Regions from separate parts of the Homo sapiens genome. Here region 2 is linked to region 1. Evidence: promoter capture Hi-C in 16 types of primary human blood cells and fetal thymus (Javierre and others, 2016). All regions are on one chromosome and are shown on one strand. The core of a region is centred on a gene start or on the middle of the fragment in contact, and the rest is flanking DNA. Distances in the headings are between cores, read along the strand shown.

Evidence for each region. Contacts are between HindIII fragments. The CHiCAGO score rates a contact against its expected background, and 5 or more counts as called.
Region 2: a contact is called between a fragment that was not itself captured here and the fragment with the promoter of NFAM1 in region 1, in 6 of 17 cell types (activated CD4 T cells, total CD4 T cells, non-activated CD4 T cells and 3 more). The highest score is 8.1, in activated CD4 T cells.

The regions. Positions count from the first base shown.
Region 1 is chr22:42,430,496-42,435,194 of GRCh38, forward strand. NFAM1 (NFAT activating protein with ITAM motif 1) reads right to left here and starts at 1,908. Exons shown (of 6, transcript NM_145912.8): 1 at 1,742-1,908. The coding sequence starts at 1,862. The HindIII fragment of the contact is 8,354 bases long and covers 1-2,535 here.
Region 2 is chr22:41,739,605-41,744,303 of GRCh38, forward strand. MEI1 (meiotic double-stranded break formation protein 1) reads left to right here. Exons shown (of 31, transcript NM_152513.4): 12 at 3,476-3,590. Among named protein-coding and RNA genes, the nearest start is that of MEI1, 42 kb to the left of the region's middle. The HindIII fragment of the contact is 2,151 bases long and covers 1,599-3,749 here.

The DNA of each region.
Region 1 (4,699 bases), core at 658-3,157:
GTTGCCGTGAACCAAGATGGCGCCATTGCACTTCAGCCTGAGTGACAAGAGTGAAACTCTCAAAAAAAAAAAAAAAAAAAAAAATCATGGGTGGGGGTTTGTCTGCTGCTCCAAGGGACTCTAGGACACCGTAAGGGTGTTTTCACCTCTTGTGAAAGAACAGTTTCTCTTTTATGTAATGTTTGTTGCAATACCGGGTGGGAGGGGGTGGCACTGGGAATGTTTTGTTATAGTTGAGACTGTTACAAAAGAGCTTTTCCCCAGTAGCACCCCATAAAACCTCTTACTGCTCGGTTACCAGGGTGTGCTGGGTGTCTTTTGGGGAGGAGGAACCACACAAAGGGAAAGGATGGGAATTGGGGGGAAATTAAATTAAAAATGACTGTAGTTGAGACACATTGACACTAACAGGCTGCATTTCCGGGGTCTGGCCGTGTTTGCACCAACTGTCTGGGGTGTGGGGCGAGGCGTGCACAGGATTAAAGGAGATGGTGTCCTAGGGCTCTGGGCTGCAGCCTGGGGAGGTACACACAGGTCAGCCTTTGCCTCCCCAGGGTAAGTTTCCGGTGAAGAACATTCTTTACAAGTAAGAGGATCCTCTGAGCCTACTGGCCGAGGGGCCCAGCTTGGGGCTGAGGCTGGCCTGGGGCTGAGGCTGGCCTCTACTTACCGGCTAGGTCTTGAGCAAACGAACTGGCTTCCCTGGGCCTCCTTTTCCCTGTCCTTAAAATGGTGCAGGTGAGGACAATAGGAGCCCCAAGGGGTGCTGTGAGGGTGGCCAGTACGTGCCCTGCTAAGGGCTCCATAAAGCCTAATTTGTGGTCATGAGAGGGGGTGCAGCAGGACAGGGTGGGGGCAGCTCTTGAAAGCCCCATAAACTAAGAGAATAGAAAGGAAGGCACCCTGTCTCCACAGTGGAGGCCACCCCTTTGGCCAGAGGGAGGGTTGGCTGCTGCCCGGCCAAGGAGGGGCAGAGAGAATCTGGCAGAATTCACTGAGCCCTCGTGCTGGCAGCCCTGGAATGGGACCCTCCTGGGCCGTCCCTGGCCTGATGAACTGGCCCTGAGGCTACCTACCCCACAGCTTGGCTCGGATCCCGGCCACCCAGCTTCCAAGAAAGCCTGGAACCAGGAAAGGAGCGCCGCTGGCGTGGAAAGACACACTTGCATCCTAAAACACTTGGCCTCTGGTTGTGTTTCAGGAACTGGGAGGTGAGACCCTTTCTGGTGACTGACAGTTTTGTGCCTCTGGGCGCAGAGCCCTGTGGCTGGCCCTGGTATCCCCCCCTCCCCCCTCTCCCCGCTCTCCCTGGCCAATGCCAGCAACAACCCAGAGGGTAGCCCCACCACTTGCCAGGTTCAACGCAGTGTCCCCCGCAGCAGCCACGTGAGGTTCCTCGGATGGGGAGCTGTCCCTCCCCCCTGCCCCGCCCCTGGCCCCAGCCACACAGCGCCCACCCTCCTTGTTTAAGGGCCAGGAGGCCAGACTGCTGGGGCAAAGCTGTCACAGCAGCGAGGGAGAGAGCGCTGTCCCCCTCCCCTTCAAAAGCCACCTTGGCAAGGCATTAGCTAAACATCTTCTCGGTCCCAGAAGGCTTCCCCTGTGAAGTCTGCAGCGTTCAAACGACAACCAGCAAATCCCCAGAGACAGGTCCCTGGGAATTAGCTGCGCCGGGCGGGATGAAAGCCGCTCTGATGTTCTGGAGCGAGAGAGTAGAGAGAAGGAGGAAGACAGACACTACCTGCCAGTCGCAGGGTCCCGGGCAGCAGCAGCACGCCAAGGAGGAGCCAGGGGGCTGCGGGGAGCCCAGGAGGGCGTGGGAGGCCTGGCAGGGCCCGCCACCTCACAGGCTGGTTCTCCATCTGGGGGCCTGCTTGTCTGCGGCGACTCTTTAGTTCACAGGAGGGGACGGCCGGCGCTGACAGCTTCCCCTTTGCTTTCCCCACGAAGCTCCTCCCTGGCAGCCCCTGACCTTCCGCTCAGAAGCAAAGCTGGAACAGCCCAGCAGGGTGGCCGCCAGATGAGGAACCTGGCACTGAGACTGGTCCAGGCCACACAACCAGAAGAAGAGCTGGAGACGGGACCCAAGCCTCCCCACTCCAACCCCTGGTGGGCTTCACCCTGTCTCGGCCCCTTTCCAGCAGGGGCCCCGTCCAGGAGACACTGGTAACTGTGCAGAGGGATCATGGGATTTCCATGAGTGACTTCGGGCCTTGGTTTAGCCTCTCACTTCTGAAACACTTTTAAAACGACCACAAGCATGTTCACACAAACTTCTCTAAAATATTCTGAGAATCCCTTAATAATGTGTTTACCAAAGGTAGGTTTTTTGGTGAGGGGTGGTAGGGAGGCTGGGGTGAAGGGCAGGAGCCTCATGTTCCCAGCCCTAGAGAGGGCCAAACACCCAGGGCAGGTGAAAGGCAGGCTGCCCATCATTCACCCAGCGAGAACCTCTGTGGGTCCCCTGCAGAGGCCCAGGAGACGCCTCCTCTCTGGTCCATCTCTAACGTCAGCTCCTCCCTGTGGCTGCCCTAAAGCTTAGCTCACTCGGCCTCCCAACTGTGAGACCCTCGAACTGCTTCCCCATTGGCTGCAGGTCACAGCCCCTGCTCTCACTTCTAGCAGCATCAGCCGGGGACAGGAATTGTTTGCTGCCGGGACCCCCTTCCCCAGCAGACTGGGAGCCCCTCACCCTTGGCACCCACACATCTGCCTGCGTGTCTGGAGTGGCAGAGGAAAGGGGCTGGGGTGTGGTGATGGCTGGTGGAGCTGGAGGCACCTGGTACATGGAAGACGCAGGCGGGAAGGTGGCTGAGTTTCAGCGCATGCTGAGCGCTTACCTCCCTTCTCTGCAGGTGTCCCTTCACTCACCAGATAAATGTGATGATCCCAGTTGTACAAAAGAGAAGACCTCGGCCCCAGGAGGCAAAACAACATGCCTAGGATCAGGGCAGGTCTGTGGGGCGGGCATTTGAACTGCCAGTGGTATGATGTCCGAGCCTTCTCCCACCCTGCTACTGCCTGCTCAGGTGTGTCCAGCTGCAGCCCCCGGTGACGGCATCATGAGATCCATTTCAGTTCTTTGCACACATGCTTTTCCCTGGGCTGCTCCAAACATGAACAGTGAAAGCCTAAAGACGTTTCCACCAATGCCACGAGCACTGGGAGGCTGGCAAGAGCAGGGGCCGCCCACCAGGGGAGGAAGACATATGAACAGGAGAAGTTTCCTACCGCGCAGGGGGCAGGCGGGGACCCCAGTGTTATTGACTGTTGATCCATCACAGTGATACATGCTCACATATGTCACAGTGAGATGCAGACCCGCTGCTTCACGCTATTCCTGGCTCCTGGGAGTAGCAGGTTGTCTAAGCACCTTGATGCCATGGTGATAGACCTCGTGTCAATGCCTCAGGGTACACGGGGAGCATTGGAAAAGCATCGGTCTGTGCCTCTACAAGTCTCATTACGACTTGGCACTGGGAGGCAGCTGAATGCCAAACTGCCTCGGAACAAGGGAGCCTGCTCTTCCAGCCCTGGTGCCGCCTCCGCTCCTGCCCCTGTGCCAGCTCACTGACCCTACCTCTCAGCCTGTCACGGTGCCCCCCACACCCCAACTCTGTACCTCGGACTCCCGGGAGTTCTGCCGCCTCTGAGTCTGGGTCTAGCCTGCTGCACACCTGGTTTCCACGCTTGCCTGCCTGAGCTGCCTGTCTTCCTCCCCTCTCCTTCTTGAGCCTGGCCCAGGGGGTGCAGGAATGGACGGATGGGTGAGCATAAGGCAGGGAGAAGCCTTCCTCCAGGCTTGATATGAAGGCAGGTGCCCAACACCACGCTGGTGCACAAGAGGCCTCAAGGGAAGGGGTAGCCTCTGGGAGGCAGGGTGGGAGGAGGCGTGCATACTCCCCAGGCAGGCCCTGGGCTGTGGAGCGCAGACATGACTGGACAAGAAGCAGCTGAGGGTCCCAGCTCATTGCCCAGTTTCTGAGACGCTCTGCAGCCACGCAGCCTCCTGGGGAGAGGCAGGGACGCACCTTGGCAAGGAGCCCAGCAGCCCTGGCTGCGCTGTCGGGGCCTCGTGTCTGGCCCTGATCCTCCTCGGGAGCCAGGGGGATAGAAATAAAACCGCAGCGCATCCAGGAGCCTCATTTCTACCAAAACTTTCTAGCACCTCTCATGTGCTTCCTCTCCTGTGCCCTCAGCCAGAGCTGTGAATAAACAGTAAAGGCCCCAAAGGCTGAAGGCGGAGCAGAGGAATGAGGAGGCTCTGTGGGTGTCCCAGGGGCAGCTTCAGTGGCACAGCCTTCGAGCTAGGCCTTGGCAGCTGAATTTGCAGGTGAGGTCCCTGGGGACCACACGTCTCAGCCACTGGCTTTTGCCCAGACCTCCGTCCATTCCCCGTTTATCCGTGCATCTATGCCTCACAGTATACTGAACACCTGCCCTGCCCTGGGCCCTGGCCTCACGGAGGCTGTAGAAGTGAAAGAGCCTAGCCTCCCTGGGAAGCCTAGGGGCACGGCAACCTCAGCAGAGTGAAGCAATAATAGAGCAGTTCCGGGAAGCTTCCAAGCGCCTGACACTGCTCCAGGGGACCTGCTCTCCTTGCCAGTTTAATCCTCACTGCAGCCCTATGGGGCAGGCACTCTAATCACCTCCATTGTACAGATGAGGAAACTGAGGAACAGGGAGGTTAAAGTAATTT
Region 2 (4,699 bases), core at 1,424-3,923, 690 kb before region 1:
CCTCCTTTGTCCTTCCCTGAATTTGAATCTCTAAATCTAGGACATGAATTCTAGAGTGGGAGGGATGAGTAAACCAACAAGGTAACAAAAGCATAAGTAAGAGCAATGTCAATCAGAGGCATCTATGCTGAGCTGGAAGTCTTCCAGCAGGACACTGCTAGAGGGGACCAGTAGTGCCTTTTGGGCAGGAAGTGGTATTTCAGTTGTACTATGAAGGGTGAGAGTTAGATTTGTGGAAGGACCTGGATTAGCAAAACATTTGGGTTCGAGAGTATAGAGATTGCTCAGGGTGCAGTAGCCAGTTGACCAGCAGGTTACATGAAGCGGGTGTTGCCTGGAGAAGCAGGAAAGCTGTTGGGTCAGAATTGTGGAGAGAGATGGATAGGGGGCAGGTTATTAAGCCTTGGATTATTTTACTTTTTTTTTGGTGGGGGGGGTGGAGTCTCGCTCTGTTGCTCAGGCTGGAGTTCAGTGGCTCGATCTCGGTTCACCACAACCTCCACCTCCCAGGTTCAAACGATTCTCCTGCCTTAGCCTCGCGAGTAGCTGGGACTACAGGTGCCCGCCACCACGCCTGGATACTTCTTGTATTTTTAGTAGAGATGCGTTTTCACCATATTGGCCAGGCTGGTATCGAATTCCTGACCTTGTGATCTGCCTGCCTCAGCCTCCCAAAGTGCTGGGATTATAGGCGTGATCCACCGCGCCCGGCCAAAGATGATTTTACTTTTGACTTTAACTTCCCAGAATGTTTACTGACGTGGTCCCTCTGAGGTGGGGTGGTTCAGAGTGTCTTTGGAAAGCACAACTAGAAGGAAGAATGAAGAGTGAGAGCTGCTAAAAAGAATTTAAAGAGGCCGGGTATAGTGGCTCACACCTGTAATCCCAGCACTTTGGGAGGCTGAGGCTGGAGGATCGCTTCAGCTCAGGAATTTGAGACTAGCCTGGATAACCTGAGGAAACGCTATCTCTACAAAAATTATCCAAGCTTGGTGTATGCCTGTAGTCCCGGCTACTCAAGAGGCTGAGGCAGGAAGATTGCTTGAGCCCAGGAGATTGAGGCTGCTGTGAGTTGTGTTTGTGCCACTGCACTCCAGCCTGGGCAGCAGAGCGAGACCCTGTCTCAAAAACAAAAACAAAAACAAAAACAAACCCAAGAATTTAAAGGTGGTGGAACTAGGGCTTGATGATCGTGTAGGATCGTCAAACTTGGAGCTTCCAGAGATGAAGAAGGAAAGGGGAAATCAAGCCGTAACCATATGCAGTTGACTGAGAACCTGTTAGAAGGCCCAACAGATGGCTCTCAGTGCTCAACAAAGGCTCAGGGATGAGGGTCTTGCTCTGTCACCAGGCTGGAGTGCTGTGATGTGATCTTGGCTCGCTGCAACCTCCAACTCCCTGGTTCAAGCGATTCTCCTGCCTCAGCCTGCCGAGTAGCTGGGATTACAGGCACGCGCCACCATGCCCAGCTAAATTTTGTATTTTTAGTAGAGACAGGGTTTCATATCATAATGTTTTAAGAAAGTTTACAAATTTGTGTCAGGCTGCATTCAAAGTTGTCCTGGGCTGCATGCGGCCTGTGGGCTGTGGGTGGGACAAGCTTGCTTTAGAGGGGACATGGCCCTGACGACACCTCAATTTCAGATTTCTAGCCTCCAGAACTGTGAGAGGATAAACTTCTGTTGTTTTAAGCCACACAGTTTGTGGTAATTTATTATAGCAGCCCTAAGAAACCAATACCCTGTGAAATAGTCATTCATTCATTTGACATCTGTTCTATTAATCATCAACTTACAATGCATCTGTCTCTGTTTAGGTAAAGTGAAAAGATGGAACTGGTCCCTTTCCTCTTGGAAACTCACAATTAAACTAGTCAATGACTGTTGGCTCTTCTGAGTCTATAGAATCTGAGGGTTCAAATGGGCCTTAGGTGTTACCTGTCTACATTTACCCCACACTCATAATGATTGAATCTCCAAAAGTACTTTTCCAGTCTCTGCGTATAGTCTCATAGAATGGGGAATCACTTCTCCCTAGAGATGGTCCCCAATACTTCTATAGACTTTGACTCAGAAAATTCTCAGGCTGATGCTGGGCGTGGTGGCTCACGCTTGTAATTCCAGCACTTTGAGAGGCTGAGGCGGCAGATCATGAGGTCAAGAAACCCCGTCTCTACTAAAAATACAAAAATTAACTGGGTGTGGTGGCGTGCGCCTGTAGTCCCAGCTACTTGGGAGGCTGAGGCAGGAGAATCACTTAAACCCGGGAGGCAGAGGTTGCAGTGAGCTTAGATTGCGCCACTGTACCCCAGCCTGGTGACAGAGCGAGACTCCATCTCAAAAAAAAAAAAAAAAAAGAGAAAAGAAAGTTCTCAGGCTGGGTGCAGTGGCTCATGCCTGTAATCCCACACTTTGGGAAGCTGTGGTGGGTGGATAACTTGAGGTCAGGAGTTTGAAACCAGCCTGGCCAACATGGTGAAATCTCATCTCTACTAAAAGTACAAAACTTAGCTGGGTGTAGTGGTGTGCGCCTGTAGTCCCAGTTACTCAGGTGGCTGAGGCAGGAGAATTGCTTGGATCTGGGAGATGGAGGTTGCAGGGAGCCAAGATCACACCACTGCACTCCAGCCTGGGTGACAGAGTGAGACTCCATCTCTGGATCTTAGTAACATTTACCTGTTGATCCTGGTTTTCCTCGTTGAGTTAACAAAGTTTGATCCCTCTTCCCCAGAAGAGCTTATTACTTATTGGAAAACAGTAGCTGTCACTCTCTTGATGCACGTTCAATTCTAGGTAGTGCTTCTTTTACCAGCAGGCTCTCCTCTGCGAGAAAACCTTGTATCCTTAATAGTAATAATAGACACAGCTGACATTTATAAGGACTTATTACGTATTAAGCATCATGCTAAGTGTTTGGCATACATTATCGAATTTGATCCCCATAATAAGTCTATGAGGAGAGTACTATTAGCCTCATTTAATAGATGAGGAAATTGATGGTTAGAGAGGGCAAGGAATGTACAAGAAGTTGTGCAGTTAGATAAGCATTGAAGTAAGGATTTTTTTGAGACAAAGTCTTGTTCTGTCACCCAGGCTGGATTGCAGTAGTATGATCACGGCTCACTGCAGCTTCTACCTTCTTGGGCTCAGGTGATCCTCCCACCTCTGCCTCTTGAGTAACTGAAATCACAGGTGTATGCCACCACACTTGGCTAATTTTTGTGGAGACTGGGTTTCACCATGTTGCCCAGGCTGGTCTCCATCTCCTGGACTCAAGACATCTACTCATCTCAGTCTCCCAAAGTGCTGGAATTAACAGGCGTGAGCCACCATTCCTGGCCTGGAGTAAGGATTTTTATCAGATTAGATTCCATGTTCTGATCCAACTGCACTGCCTCTCATTGCCTGAGAACCTGGGGTTATCTTGGGAATACCGTTGCCTTACCGTGAACCTGCTTTTGTCTCTCTGGATGCAGGAAGGACCATCAGAGCACTCCACCTGTGCAGTATGGGGAACTGCAGGCTTTGCTAGAAGCCATGCTAAACCGATGTGCGGAGTTTTCCCAGACCTTGCTGAGCAGGAGGCCCCTGGTCAGTGTACTGCAGCCTGCTGCTTCCGAAGATCATGCTGCAGTGTGTTTTTAGAAAGATAATTAGTATATTCCCTTACTTTTGTATGCTATTTCATGACTTTTTCTCATGCACACATGGCTACAATGAGATGCTTTTTCCCTAATAGCAGAACTATGAAGCTTAAGGATTACTATTGTCATTTTTACAGATGGGGAAACTAAAGCCACGAGGGTTAAATAATTTTTCTCTAAGGTCCAAAACTATAAAGTACCTAAGCCTAGAACAGTAAATTCCAGGGTGTTTTTACCCCAGTCTATTACACACATTCTCTGTTTATATCATATAAGCAGATAGGGTAAACATGCTCACAAAATTATTTAAGTCTGAATTCACTAGAATCTTAGAATCTGACCAATGTGCCATGTGTTGTAGCTGCTGGCTTTTAATAGCCTGTAGACTTAAGATATCAGGAAAGACACTGTCAGTGTGAATGTTGATTATGTCTTTCAGGATTAACTTTGGAAACTAAGCTCTTTACACCTGATGGAGTGGGGATTTTCTTGTGTTTTAGAGCAACTAATAGGGCCATTATAGTCAAGCTAATGCCCACTAGCCTGTGACAGCTTTCTGCATATAATAGACCAATAGTCATTCCTGTGGTTCAGAGAGACTGTAGGTTAGGGTCCCTCCAACACTGCTACCATTTTTTTTTTTCCCGAGATGGAGTCTTACTCTGTGGCCCCAGTCTGGAGTGCAGTGGCACGATCTCGACTCACTGCAACCTCCGCCTCCCGGGTTCCAGTGATTCTCCTGCCTCAGCCTCCCGAGTAGCTGGGATTACAGGCATGCACCACCACACCTGGCTAATTTTTGTAATTTTAGTAGAGACAGGGTTTCACTGTGTTGGCCAGGCTGGTCTCGAACTCCTGACCTCCACCTCGGCCTCCTAAAGTTCTGGGATTACAGGCATGATCCACTGCGCTGGGCCCCTGCTACCATTTTTTTTTATTCTGAGACGGAGTCTTGCTCTGTTGCCCAGGCTGGAGTGCAGTGGTGCGATTTTGGCTCACTGCAACCTTCGCCTCCGGGGTTCAAGCAATTCTCCTGCCTCAGCCTCCCTAGTAGCT